Linked DNA regions of Homo sapiens: all the other regions are linked to region 1. The links are contacts of gene promoters, found by promoter capture Hi-C in blood cells and fetal thymus (Javierre and others, 2016). All regions are on one chromosome and are shown on one strand. Each heading gives the region's core, a stretch centred on a gene start or on the middle of the fragment in contact. The rest is flanking DNA. Distances are from core to core; before and after follow the strand shown.

The links. The method cuts DNA at HindIII sites, captures the fragments that hold promoters and counts their contacts. A CHiCAGO score of 5 or more calls a contact.
Region 2: a contact is called between a fragment that was not itself captured here and the fragment with the promoter of LNPEP in region 1, in 1 of 17 cell types (naive CD8 T cells). The highest score is 5.4, in naive CD8 T cells.
Region 3: a fragment that was not itself captured here is called in contact with the fragment with the promoter of LNPEP in region 1 in 1 of 17 cell types (erythroblasts); the score reaches 6.7 in erythroblasts.
Region 4: a fragment that was not itself captured here is called in contact with the fragment with the promoter of LNPEP in region 1 in 1 of 17 cell types (total CD8 T cells); the score reaches 5.4 in total CD8 T cells.
Region 5: a fragment that was not itself captured here is called in contact with the fragment with the promoter of LNPEP in region 1 in 5 of 17 cell types (naive CD8 T cells, M0 macrophages, naive B cells and 2 more); the score reaches 5.9 in naive CD8 T cells.

What each region holds. Positions count from the first base shown.
Region 1 is chr5:96,934,660-96,937,489 of GRCh38, reverse strand. It overlaps LNPEP (leucyl and cystinyl aminopeptidase), which reads right to left and starts at 1,410. Exons shown (of 18, transcript NM_005575.3): 1 at 1,316-1,410. The coding sequence starts at 1,334. It overlaps LOC124901030, which reads left to right and starts at 1,415. Exons shown (of 1, transcript XM_047417984.1): 1 at 1,415-2,830. The coding sequence starts at 1,415. The coding sequence ends at 2,119. It also overlaps a transcript of ERAP1 not described here. RefSeq lists silencers at 877-956, 1,087-1,156, 2,097-2,166, 2,607-2,726 and enhancers at 1,747-2,056, 2,357-2,496, 2,807-2,830. The HindIII fragment of the contact is 7,112 bases long and covers 1-2,830 here.
Region 2 is chr5:96,723,667-96,726,496 of GRCh38, reverse strand. The region is part of intron 4 of CAST (calpastatin); the gene reads right to left. Among named protein-coding and RNA genes, the nearest start is that of CAST, 63 kb to the right of the region's middle. The HindIII fragment of the contact is 1,763 bases long and covers 574-2,336 here.
Region 3 is chr5:96,741,794-96,744,623 of GRCh38, reverse strand. CAST (calpastatin) reads right to left here. Exons shown (of 32, transcript NM_001750.7): 16 at 1,868-1,969. Among named protein-coding and RNA genes, the nearest start is that of ERAP1, 65 kb to the left of the region's middle. The HindIII fragment of the contact is 523 bases long and covers 1,319-1,841 here.
Region 4 is chr5:96,763,637-96,766,466 of GRCh38, reverse strand. It overlaps CAST (calpastatin), which reads right to left. Exons shown (of 32, transcript NM_001750.7): 26 at 1,142-1,246; 27 at 322-414. It also overlaps a transcript of ERAP1 not described here. Among named protein-coding and RNA genes, the nearest start is that of ERAP1, 43 kb to the left of the region's middle. The HindIII fragment of the contact is 2,207 bases long and covers 387-2,593 here.
Region 5 is chr5:96,779,982-96,782,811 of GRCh38, reverse strand. It overlaps ERAP1 (endoplasmic reticulum aminopeptidase 1), which reads left to right. Exons shown (of 19, transcript NM_001040458.3): 16 at 958-1,119; 17 at 1,614-1,754; 18 at 2,308-2,389. Among named protein-coding and RNA genes, the nearest start is that of ERAP1, 27 kb to the left of the region's middle. RefSeq lists an enhancer at 1,241-2,440. The HindIII fragment of the contact is 517 bases long and covers 1,114-1,630 here.

The DNA of each region.
Region 1 (2,830 bases), core at 161-2,660:
ATTCTTCGAGTAACTTCACCAGACTATTCTTTAAGTCTTAGTAATTACAAATAGAACCTGAATGAGAAAGAAAATTCAGAATTAAAGTTGTTATCAGTAAGCCTAATTAAACAGTGCAGACAGAAAGATGGCAGTAGAATAAAGCATTCTACATTAGGAATAGGGAGAATATAATCAGTAGTTCACAGCCCCATGAATGAAGCACAGCATACAACAAAGTCTGGCTGGGATTTGGGATAAAGTGGACAATATCTGTCTGCTCTTGAGTGGTAACTAACAAACTAAACAGGGATATAGACTGTGGCCCCTATTAATGTGATACTGTACCTGAAGTAACCAACCACACTCAGCAAAACATGTCAACCAGAGACTGAATCCTCTTTTAGTGAGTCGTCTCCCTTACTGGCAGTTTTCCTACTTTCTATCTTAAAAGGGAATCCACACACTCAACACCGCAAAACGGTAAGACATCTCACCCCTATATTGTGGCTCTGGCACTTCTGGTCCGCACAAAAGCCATGGTTCTAACTAGGGTGGGATTTATGCTCCCCGTTCAGTGAAGGGCTGTGGCTGTTTGCAGGGTGCAGGCTCCCTGCGTTGACTCTCGCTTCCTGTCACACAGTGGTATCACCACCGTGACGGACCCTTGACATTAACAAGTCTTTGACTGAAAAACTGATGTGATCTGCAGCCAGTGAGGGGATGCGTGGTGGCCCTGCCGAGTACCTCGGCAGGGTCAGGAGGGTGGCACTGTGGCCAGGCACCTCCGCGGCACCGAGCGAGGTGAGCAAGCCTTTCCTGAAGTTTCCCTTCCTTCCACAACATTAACCTGCCAAGCCTCCCACCCCCACCCCGCCCTATTAGGAAAAGTCACGCCGGCAGCTCACTGAAGGGCAGGGGGACAGCTCCTGGCGCCCCACAAAAGTTGGGCTCGGCAGCTGCCACAACTTAACGCTCCTACAGGAGAGTCGGGCCGACACCGCCTCCTCCGGGGGCAAACCTGAGCTGCCAACTTTCCCACTGCCCACTCCTCTGCGCACAGCAGCCCAAACTTTGCTGTTTGCCCACCGGCCGCACCCCGGGCGAGCGGCGGCGGCGCTGACCTTCAAGCCAGCCCCGGGTCCCGCACTGGCCGCCGCCCGCCCCCCGAACCTCCCTGCCTCCCCCAGATCCCCTCTCCCTGCCTCCCTCAGCCCTCGTGGGAAGCCCGCGGTGTTGGGGGAGACGGCTGCAGCCCGACCCCGCGTGTCACGACTGCCCACGACCCTCAGGGCTCCGGAGAGCCCGGGTCCCGGCGCCTCGGCAGCCCACTCACCATTGGTGAAGGGCTCCATTTTCCCCCCGCCGCGGCTCCTTACAGCCGGAGCGCCCGAGCTTCCTACTCCGAGAGCTGAGGCGGCCCAGCTGACTGAGCATGCCCAGCGCGGCCTCCAAGGGCTGCCAGGGAGGTGCCGCGAGGGGCGGCGCCGCTCCGCCGTTCCGGGTTTTCGTGGCAGCTGCAGAAAGAGCGAGGGAAGCAAGAGGGAAAAGCACAGTCAAACCCCCTGCTGCTCCGTGGACAGGCGAGGTGGGAGCGGGTTCGCGCTGGGGGCGGGGCCTAGGCGGGGCCGGGAAAGCCCAGCCCCTACCTGAAGTGGACCCGGCTGCGGCGCTCTCCCCGGCCGGGAACGGTGTTCAGTCACTCAACAAATGTGGAGCCCTACTGCGACCCGCCCGATCCCGGACGCCGAGACACCCGCACTGCGCCAGAAAATCATGGTCCCAGTCCCAGGAGCGGACATTCCAGAAACAGACCATAAATAAACACAGAAGACACACGAGTGTAAAGTCAGTGCCCCGCTGCGAATTAAATCGGGGTGATGTGATGGCGAGTGAGTGGGTAGTTAATTCGGATGGCTTGGTTAGACGAGGCCTCGCTGAGCAGGTGCCACTGAAGCCGAAGTCTGAAGGCAGAGCAGGAACCTGCGGGCGAAGGTCGCTATCTGAACCGCGAATCGCTGGTTTCCCTGGGGAGGTTGGCCGCGGAGGGATCACTGCTCGAAGGACCGAGGGAGCGGGCGCTGTAGGTGTTTTCGGCAGAGATGCCCGCCCGCATCAGAGTGCCTCAGGAGGGCGGTGAGGAGGAGACGGAAGAGAGGGCGGGGACCTCGCAGGGCCGAGGGCGCCCTGGGGTCCAGTCCCGGGGCTGGCGGCTGCCTTGCGGCCTCTAGGTGCGGGCGGATAACAAAACCCGGCGCCGGATCGCCCGGCCCGGGTCGCGGGCGCCGCAGGATGTGGGCAGAAGGCCCGCCTGTTCCGAGCCTTAAATCAACACCTGCGGTTCCCGGGGGTGCTACCACTGGGGCCCGCAGCAAGGCTCCGCGGCGCTAGGCCCGAGAAACCGAAACTCCCCTAGTCGCCCCTGCCCCCCAGCACTCGCGCCATTGCCTCCAGCCCCGAGCCACCATTGTTTCCAGTGCCAAATCGGGCAGCCCCGCTAGCCTCCGAGGCCGAACCGCCAGGGGCCCCATAAGCCCCGAGGAGGCTCGTCGGGAACCGCTTCCTTATCCTCTCGGTATGCGCATCGCCACCACCCTCGCTGCAGAGGCCGCCGCCCTCCCAGCGCGCCATCACCGCCTCCTCTGCCTCTTCCCCTCCCTCAGCCCCGGCCCCTGCATTGACTTGGCTCGGGCTGCGCCTCACTGCGCCTGCCAACTGTCACACGCTCTGAGGCTTTCAACAGCGGGGCGCCAGGGACAAACAAGCCGCGGCAAGCGCAAACAGCCTGCTCAAACAGGGACGGCCAGGGTGTTGTTTGACCAGCACTGGAATTGGAAACTAGGTTTCGAAG
Region 2 (2,830 bases), core at 206-2,705, 210 kb after region 1:
TTTCCTATGTATCCAATGTTTAGTTATGATCAAATAGTCACAGATGTAACGGAAAGTTTTATGAAATTCTGTCAACATAATCCCCCCAAAATTGTAAATATTTAGTGCATGGATTTTTACTGGGCACATCACAGTCCTGTATGCAGAGATCGAATTTAAAGTTCTAGAAATGCTTCTACAGAACTGGTTGTAACTTAGCATCTTTAGTATGATATTTTACAGTTTTATCCAACTAAACATTACTTGTGCAAAAACAAGTAAGTACATGCATGCATTCTCAATATAGGCAAGATATACAATCATGAATAAAACTTGATTAAACATTTCATGAACTTTTCAGTCAGAGATTACAAACTAGGGTCCGATGCTTCCTGCTGTTTCTTTCCTTTTTATCTGCTTGGTAGTATCAGCACAAACTAGTGGTTTTTATTTATTTATTTTTATTTGAAGAGGCTAAAGTCAATTATCCTCTTAATTTATCATGTCTTCTACTTCAGTAATGAAGACACATACTTTCTTCAAATAATGGCCCCTTGCTAGGCTAACACACTATTTTGGGAAGGAAACAAAGCTTATGATTGAAATGTTTTTAAAGAAATTTTAAATTTTGGATCCTTTCACACTACATTCTCATTAATGAGTTTCTATTTATGGAACTATCCTTTCAGTTTATGCAAATATAATTTATTAAATGATTAACAAGGAAAATAAGCCAGCTGGTAGTATAGTGCTTTGAATCTATTAATAGCTTGCAATTTGGCAATCAAGATTTTGCATGGGAGAACCTACACTACAATTAAGAATGTATGCTCACAGACACAAGCAGCTTATAATGCAATCTATATTTAAATCAGTAATTGCTGAATTTATTTTTGTAGTGATTGTGCTGAATATAATAATGATGACCATAATAACTAATGTGTATTAATCACCTCTCATGTGTCAACCCACTTTATCTTCATAATAATCCTATGAGACAAGTATTATTATACCCATTTCACAGATGAGAAATTGAGTTTAGAGCAGTTAAATAACTCCCTAAAGACATCCATGGTGGACCTGAGGTTGTGTGTTCTAGTCATCGCACTGCACTCTCTCCCCAGTAGTGGCCAACAGACAATCCCATCTGGACACTTGCTTAGGACAGGAATTGTCCAATATACATTATGTTTCCTTACACAGTCTTGTGAGGCAGGTACTATTATCACCTTCCTCCAAACTGTACAGATAAGGAAACCAAAGCAAAAAGAGATTGTCCAATATCACAGCTGATATGGAACCAGGTTCCAGGGAAAGAGACTTGAGGCCAAAAGTGGTCCCTAGTTAGCCACTGGGGACACTTCATTACGTGCATCTTATTTTTGTCTCTCCCCCTCTTCTCTCTCCTACTTTCCTCCAGTTTCACAGGACTGCCGAGAATTCTCATGATTAATGCTTAGAGAAGGGTGAAGAGTTTGCTGACATTTGTTCTAGGTAACAGGCCACGCTTGAAATAAACATTGGTCCTTGAGCTGAGGCACAGGGGATTAGAATCAGGCAACAGGATGAAAAAGAACCAAAAGAATAAAAAGGAAATCCTATATTTCTGGCTCTCTTTCCTATCTCTTTTCTTTGGTTTTCATGATCTCTAAATTCAATGAGATTATTTATTTATTTATTTATTTATTTATTTTTGAGACAGGGTCTTGCTCTGTCACCTGGGCTGGAGTGCAGTGGTGCAATCACAGCTTGCTGCAGCCTTGATCTCCTGGGCTCAAGCCATCCTCCTGCCTCAGCCTCCCGAGTAGCTGAGACTACAGGAGTAAACCACCACACCTGGCTAATTTTTTGTAGACACGGGATCTCGCTATGTTGCCCAGGCTGGTCCCAAACTCCTGGGCTCAAGCGATCCTCCCACCTTGACCTCTCAAAATGCTGGGATTATAGGTGTGGGCCACTATGCCTGGTCTTAATGAGAACTTTTATTTTGTAGATGCTTCTGGAATATTTTTTAAAATTAGGATTTTTAATTTTAGGCTGGACACAGTGGCTCATGCCTGTAATCCCAGCACTTTGGGAGGCTGAGATGGGAGGACTGCTTGAGCCCAGGAGTTTGAGACCAGCCTGAGTAACATAGCAAGACCCCTGTCTCTACAGAAAAACAGAAATATTAGCCAGGCATGGTGGTGTGCCCCTAGAGTTCCAGCTACTCAGGAGACTGAGGTAGGAGGATCACTTGCATCCAGGAGGTCAAGGTGGCAGCAAGCTGTGATCATGCCACTACATCCAGCCTGGAAGACAGAGCGAGACCCTGCCTCAAGGAAAAAAAAAGATTTTTAATTTTTTAAGATTAAGCTTAACATAATTAAATAGAGACAGCTAACATTAATTATAGATTATATAATGTATATTTTGAAAGCAATTTAGAAATCAATGTAAATTTAAATACTAAATTTAAAAACTGATAATTTTAGATTAAAATTTTAAATGAATGCTAAATGACATAAGAACTTAGATGTGGATAGTGTATTTCTAGATATTTGTAATGTTCTTTGAAGATGATTCAAGATGAGGCCATATAATCCTTTGATAGTACTAAGTTATAGTGCCACATCACCTGGGATAGGAAACTACAGGGATAGCATAGTAATATGAAAGACAGAAAACAAAAGTAGGTTGGTAATTTTAAACAAGGGCAATTTAATAATAATGGAGTTGGGGTAGCTCTTAAAGGTATTAAAGAATATTGGCACACAAACATTAGTTGAGAGAATTTTGAAAATGCTCCCTCTTTAATTCCCTCCCCTGAAATATTCCCAAGAGATACAGCTTGAGCTAGAGTAACTTAGGG
Region 3 (2,830 bases), core at 331-2,830, 190 kb after region 1:
ATTCATACTTTGTATATGATTAAAAAGGAAAACTAGTGATATGCTTTGGCTGTGTCCCCACCCAAATCTCATCTTGAATTGTAGCTCCCATAATTCCCACGTGTCGTGGGAGGGACCCAGTGGGAGGTAATTGAATCATGGGGGCGGAGCTCTCCTGTACTGTTCTCATGATAGTGAATAATTCTCACTAGATCTGATGGTTTTATAAAGGGGAGTTCCCCTGCACATGCTCTTTTACTTTCCTCCATGTAAGACGTGACTTTGCTCCTCATTCACTTTCCACCGTAATTATGAGGCCTCCCTAGCCATGAGGAACTGTGAGTCAATTAAACTTCTTTCCTTTATACATTACCCAGTCTCTGGTATGTCTTTATTAGCAGCATGAGAACAGACTAATACAACTATTATGTCATAAGAGTGGAAAAGAGGAGTTCTTTTTGCTGGAATTTTAGTTTGCTGCGACTCTGAAGTTTTCTAGAGGGAACTTAATACATTCATATGCATTCCCAAACTAGTTACCCACATGTTTAAATAACTTATTTTATGTCACTTTTTTTCTTAACATCTGCTTATCTGCTTTTAGTCACTTTTAAGACTCCTTTGATCCTGAGGTTTATGACATGTTTATACCCTCCCTTCCCACATTAATTGTCTCTCCTTAAGTGTCTGTAAGAAGCTTGGGGCAGAAGTGCAATATACTTGTGGCCCTGTCGCCCTCAGGTGGTAAAGCCACAACTCAGCTTGGCCTCCTGACTCCCCCCAGGATTCTGCCAACACCCCGCTTTCCTCAAGATGACACTGCTTCTGTCGGCTACTCTAAGTAATGTATATCTCACATTGTGTTGTAATCAAGTTTCCCTTCTTCCCAATACATTACTTGGTCCTGGAAGATACGAACTGCTTCTCTTGCTCCTCTGCGTTCACCGTCACAAAGCTTATCGTGCCACACTGTGGCCGGTGAGCCCTCCAAGAAAGTCGAAGATAGAAACTGGCCCATCTTAGGCCAGGGCAGTCCCAGACTCAAGGATTGTTGCTGGAAGTCAGGGAGACTCCCCTTCCCTGATGACTCAGAACAGGAAGTGACAGCAGAGATGGGGCATTGTGACAGCAATGCCTGCCAGCACCCCCAGCCTGAGCTGATGGAGGTGGGGCGGGCTCCTGGGGATCCCAGGCTACCTTTCCATCTCCCCACAACACTGCCTTGTCAGGAACCGGCAACTCTCTCCTTTCCTTCCTCTTTCACCCCAGAGGACTGAGTTGAAAAATTCCACAAAAATTATAATTTAATATTAAAACTTTCGTACACCAGATGTAAGCTTGTTTTGGTTCAGAAGGCTTGTTAAGATCTTGGAGTGTGGCGGGATAAACACTCATCAGCATTATTCTATAAATATGCAGGAGCTCTAGTTAGGGTAATTGTTGCTTGATTTTAATTTGAGACAAAATTTTCAACATCTTTCCCCATAGTGATAAATGAAGGATCTTCCCACTCCGTGTATAGACATCTCCTTCTCTTATAAACAGAAGCACCCAGAACCCTTCTGAAAATACAAATTTCCAATTGCCAAACTTCACTATTTCCCACCAGGCATTGCCTCCTTGTTACCTTGTTTAGTCAAGGGTCATTTAAGCTCTAGCAAGGGAGATTCGTGTTCATTTCAAATGTTAAAATTCTAGCTGTTTCACAAGTCAGTCATGTAACTATCCCCCTTAGTTGCTAACCACTCAGCAATAAATAAGGCACAATGAAGAATGCTCACTTTTACTCTCCAATAAAAGTTGTGCGAGAATTCTAAACATGCAGAGTGCATTCGGTTTTGTAATGTGCAGACTAACAAGCTTTGTAAATCAACTCTAAGGTCAGTACCTCATCGACTTCCTTAATTGAGCGGAGGTCGAGCTCAGGTTCTGCTTGCCGGGTGCCCAGTGAAGCCGACAGAGCCTCGAGTGCTTGATCACTCATTGTATCCTGTTAAAAGTAAAAAATCCTGTGCATGAAAAAAGACATCTCTGGAGCCCGAACAATCCATTTACTTCTTTGTAAAATACATTTTAGATTATAAACTGAATATGGATTGGGGAAGTGCTCTAGAAAGGCAATTTTATTTGAAACCTTGCAAAAGAGAGAAAGGAAAAAGAACTTACCAATGAGTGGAAATTGGGGCTAAGACACGTTTCTACAGTAACAGCGTTCTCTGGGGCACACTTCACCCCTTATTTGGTAAGCTAGACATAAAGCTATAGTAATATTACTATAAAATACTCTAAACAAACAAAAAAAAAAGAAGCAAGTAGTAAACTGTTACCACACTATTTTTCTTTTTCTAAAAATGTATCTCTAAAAAGGCTTCTGACAACCTAAGCTTAGGAAGCAGGGAAGCTTGAAGTGGCCCCTGCTGCCTTCTTCTCTGAAGGCACAATGGCTGATCGTTGTAGGAACTCCCACTCTCAGGGGTGTGGTACTCACCACTGTTCCCCAGCCTGCCAGATAAAAATAAACTGTCCACTCCAGGAGGGGAGAGGCACAAGCTGCTCTGATAGAAACCGTTCCTGAGCATTATCTTGACTGTTTGCAGAGGAGACATGTGTTCCCAGCCAGCACAGAGCTGCAGGATTGCCTTTTGCGATTTGTGAGAATTATGTCATAGTGAAATATAGTTGAGAATGCTGGGCAGTACCAGCTACTTGGTGTCCCTCTAGTGATCCTCAGGGCTCAAAGTCCTTTATACAATCAAACTTGAAGGTTTTATGTTCCAAGAGTGCAATTTCTCTGGTTTCTGCCCTTCTGTGTATCATAATGGTGAGATGGTCTTAGATGATGACTGAGACA
Region 4 (2,830 bases), core at 241-2,740, 170 kb after region 1:
GAAATCCTATCACCTTAGTCATTTTTATAGCCTTTTCTTGAAAGAGAGAATCACATTTCTTGGATCACTCTTAAGCATCTGTGAGTGACTGAACAGTATTCAACCCTGTTTATACCACAGAGCCTAGCATATGCATATATAATGATATTGGCTCAAATAAATATTTACCTGCTGGTCGGCTTTGGTGACACATTAGAAGCAGTCAGTCATGGTATGTTTTATGCTATTGTAAAGGAGTATAGCTACTATTTATTTCAAGGGAGGTTTGAATTTAAAGATCTTGGTAGCATAAATCCGATCTAGCAATTTGCCTCAGTTTACCTGTCCATTATCATCCAGGAGATGTCTGTATTCAGGTGGGATAGTGTCATCTCTTTCTCCAAGCTTGTCTCTATGTTCAGCTTTAGCTTTTTCCTATATCAACAGTGAGCAGATAGAATTAATATTCATTTCCTCTTTCACTTAGAAAATACATTGTCAAATGCAGCATTCAGCATTTGTTGTACTTTCATGAGGCAAAACATATGGTCTGTTTTTATTTTTTAAGCAACAGAACAACACAGATGACTTCAACAGACTGCTAGTTGGCTAAAATATAAAATCCCGTATGCTTCTGTATGTCAATTCATATCTGTGAATTTTCTAGCTATATTTTAAATGGAAATAAATGATTAAATAATTATCTTCAGAAACCATGTTAGGAGATTAGAACCCAAAGGTATAAAATATCTTTTTCTTTTTTTCTGTATGGTTTCACTTTTCTAATACAAAATCAGGCCACTGTACCTTGCCATTTAGAGAGGTCACATTTACAACTTTGCCTATTTATAAGCAACCCTGAAGGACAACAGCTAATTTGAATGGATGTGCTGACTGCTTGTGTTGCATGGGAGGAAGCCATGCATACCCCACACCTACCTCCCAGAATCCCCTCAGGGAGGCTCCGCTGGTATCTCTGTCACAGATTCAGTGACCTTCCCCTCCAGTGGAGTACAGATTGATTTTTCTATTTCATTATAATTTCATGTTTAAAATATAGGTTAAGTTCACATCAATATTCCTATGACAATGACAGAGTCAAGACCCAAGGATTAAAATTTCACTATTAGTGAATTTTTTTTTTTTTTTTTTTTTTTTTTACCTTTACTTTATCTTCCATTGGTTTGTTCTCATCTGGGTCAGGCTGCCTTTGTCCTAGACTGTCAGAGAGTTTATCCAAGGCATCATCGAGGTCTTTGTCACTCTGCTGAAAAGTAAATAATGCTGAATTAGTCACTCATTAGCCAAACTGTATCAGAGGCAAATTAGCCCAGGAACTCCATCTTTTCAGGAGGGAACCTGTTTCCTTGGAAGAAAAAGACATCTGGGGCTGGGGCAGGGGAGTAGACAGGGTCAGAGAAGAGAAGCCTAGGAATGGAAGATCAGGAGAAGAGCGGCAGTATCTGTCACCCTACTGGGGTTGGAGGGCCAGCACCTTCCACCCAACCCTGCCCATCTCTTGGTGAAGATCCCACCAGGTTAAGGAGGTCTTAGTGGCAGCCTCAGGAGCCATATCCAGTGGGTGACCTGGAGGTCACATAAAGGGTCCAAAAGCAAATGAACCAATCATGTGTGCCTTTCATTTAGAAATTAAACACCATTAGAAAACTGGATATGAAAACAAACATCTACTAATGTTGTCAGATGGTTAGGAAGCAAGATTCTGCAACTATAGAGGGTAAGTGTTTCTTTGGTTCTGTGGGTCCTCTCTAAAACTCTAAGATCTTGAGGGGTGCATTTCAGAAAGTGCAGCGTGACCCGCAGTTTGTGGGAAGCCATGGAGCTCGGCACTGCCATCCTAATACTTCCTAAAGCACAAAACCCCAGAGACAATCTGGGGTCAGGAGAGTGGAAGGGGCTTGTCTGCCACACTGGTGATGAGTGCCCTGAAAGACTTCAGAGAATTTCTGAACTGGTGGGGAAACCTCTCTTTTCATCTTCAGGAAGCTCATGGAAGTGAAATTGCAGAAATGGGAGCTGGTATTCTAGAGGAAAAAAATTATGGACAACAATATCACTGTAACTAAGATAGCTTATTTCCTCTAACATTTATTTACTGTATGATTCAGGCAGCTTATTTAACCCCTTTCAGCTTCAGTTTCCTTGGCCGTGAAATGTGAATAATAGTAGTACTTATACTCCTAAGTTGCTGAGAAAAGTAAATGATTGAAAAGGCATTTAAAACAATACTAGTTGTATGTTAGGACCCAACAAATGGTAAATTATTATTAGTATTATTATAGCAAAATCCATATTTTTCAACACATTGCATTCAAAATTCCACCTCTAAATGAATTCAATTAAAATGTGTTTAATATCTACATTGTATAAGACACCATGCTGAACTCTGTCCAATACTGTATAGAACTTTCCAGTTGATTTTCAAAATGTTTTCACATACACTATCCAGTTTTATTTGATGCCCACAATGGTTCTCAGTGAACTAAGCAGGCTTTTTTTTTTTGAGGTAAAAAGCTCAGGGAAGCTAAGTCAGTTGCTTGAAAACAAATTGTTAAAAAGTGAATAGAACCCAGGTCTTGGGACTGATAAAGCTTTTCCCTGTCATGCTTAGTCACATCCATGATCTTCTATTTTCTTTGAAGCAGTTTTCCTGTTGGAGTGATTTTATTACACAGATCTTTGAAATCATGTCTTCAAATGCTTTCAGTGTATGTAACACTGTTAGTAACAATCTAATAATCACAGCAAAGAAAGCTCCCGTGAATTATCATGGTTTATTTGACTCTTCGATTTCCTAATATTTTTATCTAAATAAAGCTTTATACCTTGT
Region 5 (2,830 bases), core at 123-2,622, 150 kb after region 1:
TCTCATTTTGTATAGGCAATGCAAAATCTTATTAAACGGTGACAGCCATGCCATAGAGAAACACATGCATTGTATTTTATAGTAGTTTCTTTGGGCTTCCAAATTCCCTGACAGGGATGCATAGTAATTGCTGACACTGTCTAAGCAAGGTAGGATTTTACCGTATCTGGAAATCCCTATTCTTGCTACACTTCAGTCCTTTTTACATTTGGAGCTTAAACCCCACCCAGGAAACATTTATGCCAACAACCTACATGCTTCAGCTTAAAGAAATCCAAACAGTGGTCCTACTGCCGTCCTGACTTGTGATCATGGTGTAAATTTTGAATATAGTTTGAATTTCTTTTGGCTTGAAAGGTGATCCCCTATGGAGTCACCCAGCATCATTAAAGTATTTAAATATGTAGGTATTTATAAAAATGGCATTTCACATTTTTGAGAAGGCTACTTAAAACCTAATTTTAGATATTTTTCTCTTGCCTTTTTTTTATAAAGTGTAACTAGGCCAGGCGCGGTGGCTCACGCCTGTAATCCCAGCACTTTGGGAGGCTGAGGTGGGTGGATCACGAGGTCAGGGGATCAAGACCATCCTGGCTAAGACGGTGAAACCCCGTCTCTACTAAAATACAAAAAATGAGCCGGGCATGGTGGCGGGCGCCTGTAGTCCCAGCTACTCGGGAGGCTGAGGTAGGAGAATGGCGTGAACCCGGGAGGGCGGAGCTTGCAGGAACCGATATCGAGCCACGGCACTCCAGCCTGGGTGACAGAGCAAGACTCCGTCCTAAAAAAAAAAAAAAAAAAAATTGTAACTGAAGGAAATCAGTAGTTTTTGTTTATATTTCCAGGCATGCTTCTCTGATCATGGGGAAAGTTCAGCAGTTCATAGTTAGTCACCATTATGCCTCTAAACATACTTACTGCACCTCAGATTCTCACCGAGTGTGTTCCTTTCTATAGCCTGCCTGTCGACGTGACCTTGGCAGTGTTTGCTGTGGGGGCCCAGAGCACAGAAGGCTGGGATTTTCTTTATAGTAAATATCAGTTTTCTTTGTCCAGTACTGAGAAAAGCCAAATTGAATTTGCCCTCTGCAGAACCCAAAATAAGGAAAAGCTTCAATGGTGAGTCCGTCATTCATTCATGTTCATGTGGCCAAGGGAAATTAGATTAGATTAGATCATTCTGGCATCTATTTTTGTTTTCTTGGCCAGGAATTGCCTATCCTGCTGGGAACATACTGCAAGTCAGCACACATCTAATGAGAAAGGCAAATAATTAGGGAGAACCAGGTGTTAGGAAAAATATTTAAAGGTGTATACATTTGTGCATCTTTAAAATGACAACATATTAAAAATATTTACTAGAGCTACTCTTCCTTAACTATTCTTTTGAGCAAATGAGAGGGTATATGAGAATGGGTGTTATGAACACTATATAAATGTTAGTTTTTATTATGTAGCTATAGTGGGTTTATCAGGATTGTGGTTACCCATTTATCTTTTTAACCTTTGTTACTGGCAGACTTTTTTTTCTTTTACAAGTAATTTTATTGCAGTGATTCATAACTGTTTCATCACCTATTCATTGCTAACATTTCTTTTCTTAATCCTTCTAGGCTACTAGATGAAAGCTTTAAGGGAGATAAAATAAAAACTCAGGAGTTTCCACAAATTCTTACACTCATTGGCAGGAACCCAGTAGGATACCCACTGGCCTGGCAATTTCTGAGGAAAAACTGGAACAAACTTGTACAAAAGTAAGTGGTGCCAAAAATTGTGCTGTGACTGGATAAGTTCATAACCTTACTGTGTTTTAGCCTTGCTGTTTGTAAAAGAACAGTAACAGTCTAAAGGTACTTTTTGATTGAAGATAGGCAGTAGAAATACCTAAAATATTTGTAGAAAACATAAAACTGGACTTCAGTGCTAACTAGTGAATCTGGACAGGGATGTTTTCCATTCCATCTGGCATAACCCCTTCCTGAGCCCATGGACATATCTGAAGCCTTCCTCCTCACAGTTCAGCCCAGGCCTTCCATGAACACATTTGCTTGTTCACATCTGTCTTTGTCTAACTCTTATAGCATTTCCTGCTTCTGTCATTTTCTGTTGGATACTTAACCTTTTATTAGGCTGTTGGTGTGTATTATTCTTTACAGCTAGATCTTAACCCATTGGATAGACATCATATTTTGTATTTTTCACACCGATCAGTTTTTAGCTGAAAGCTATTATATATAGGAGGCCCTTAAAATATATGTTAAATGAATAAGTATTTCACAACCCGTTTTTGAATATTTCCCTCTCTAGGTTTGAACTTGGCTCATCTTCCATAGCCCACATGGTAATGGGTACAACAAATCAATTCTCCACAAGAACACGGCTTGAAGAGGTAAAAAAAAAAAATCTATATATATATTTTTAAACATAAATGAAAATTAGCTAATTAATATGGGGTAGACAAAATACTTTGAGGGTGTGGTGAGTTAGAAATGGATTGTCATTTAGAAGTTATTTTTGGATGCTATGGTGTTGACAGCAGCATAAATCAGTTGCAATTAAACTAGTGAAAACTGTGCCTCTTCTCAGACACGTTAAGAGGTCTTAGCTCTGCCAGTAAAAACCTTAGGACTTGAAGAAAATTACTTGAGACAATTAGTCCTTGTTTAAGGATGTTAAAAGTGGGCACTGAGGTATAAATGACTGAAGTGGTCATCCAGCTGTTGCTAAAGAGGCAGGTCCGGAATCTAGGTTCTTTATAAACCATCCAAGTTCATGGTTCCCTGTCACTTATTATGTAACCATCTACCTTCAGAAAGAATTTCAGGCAGCT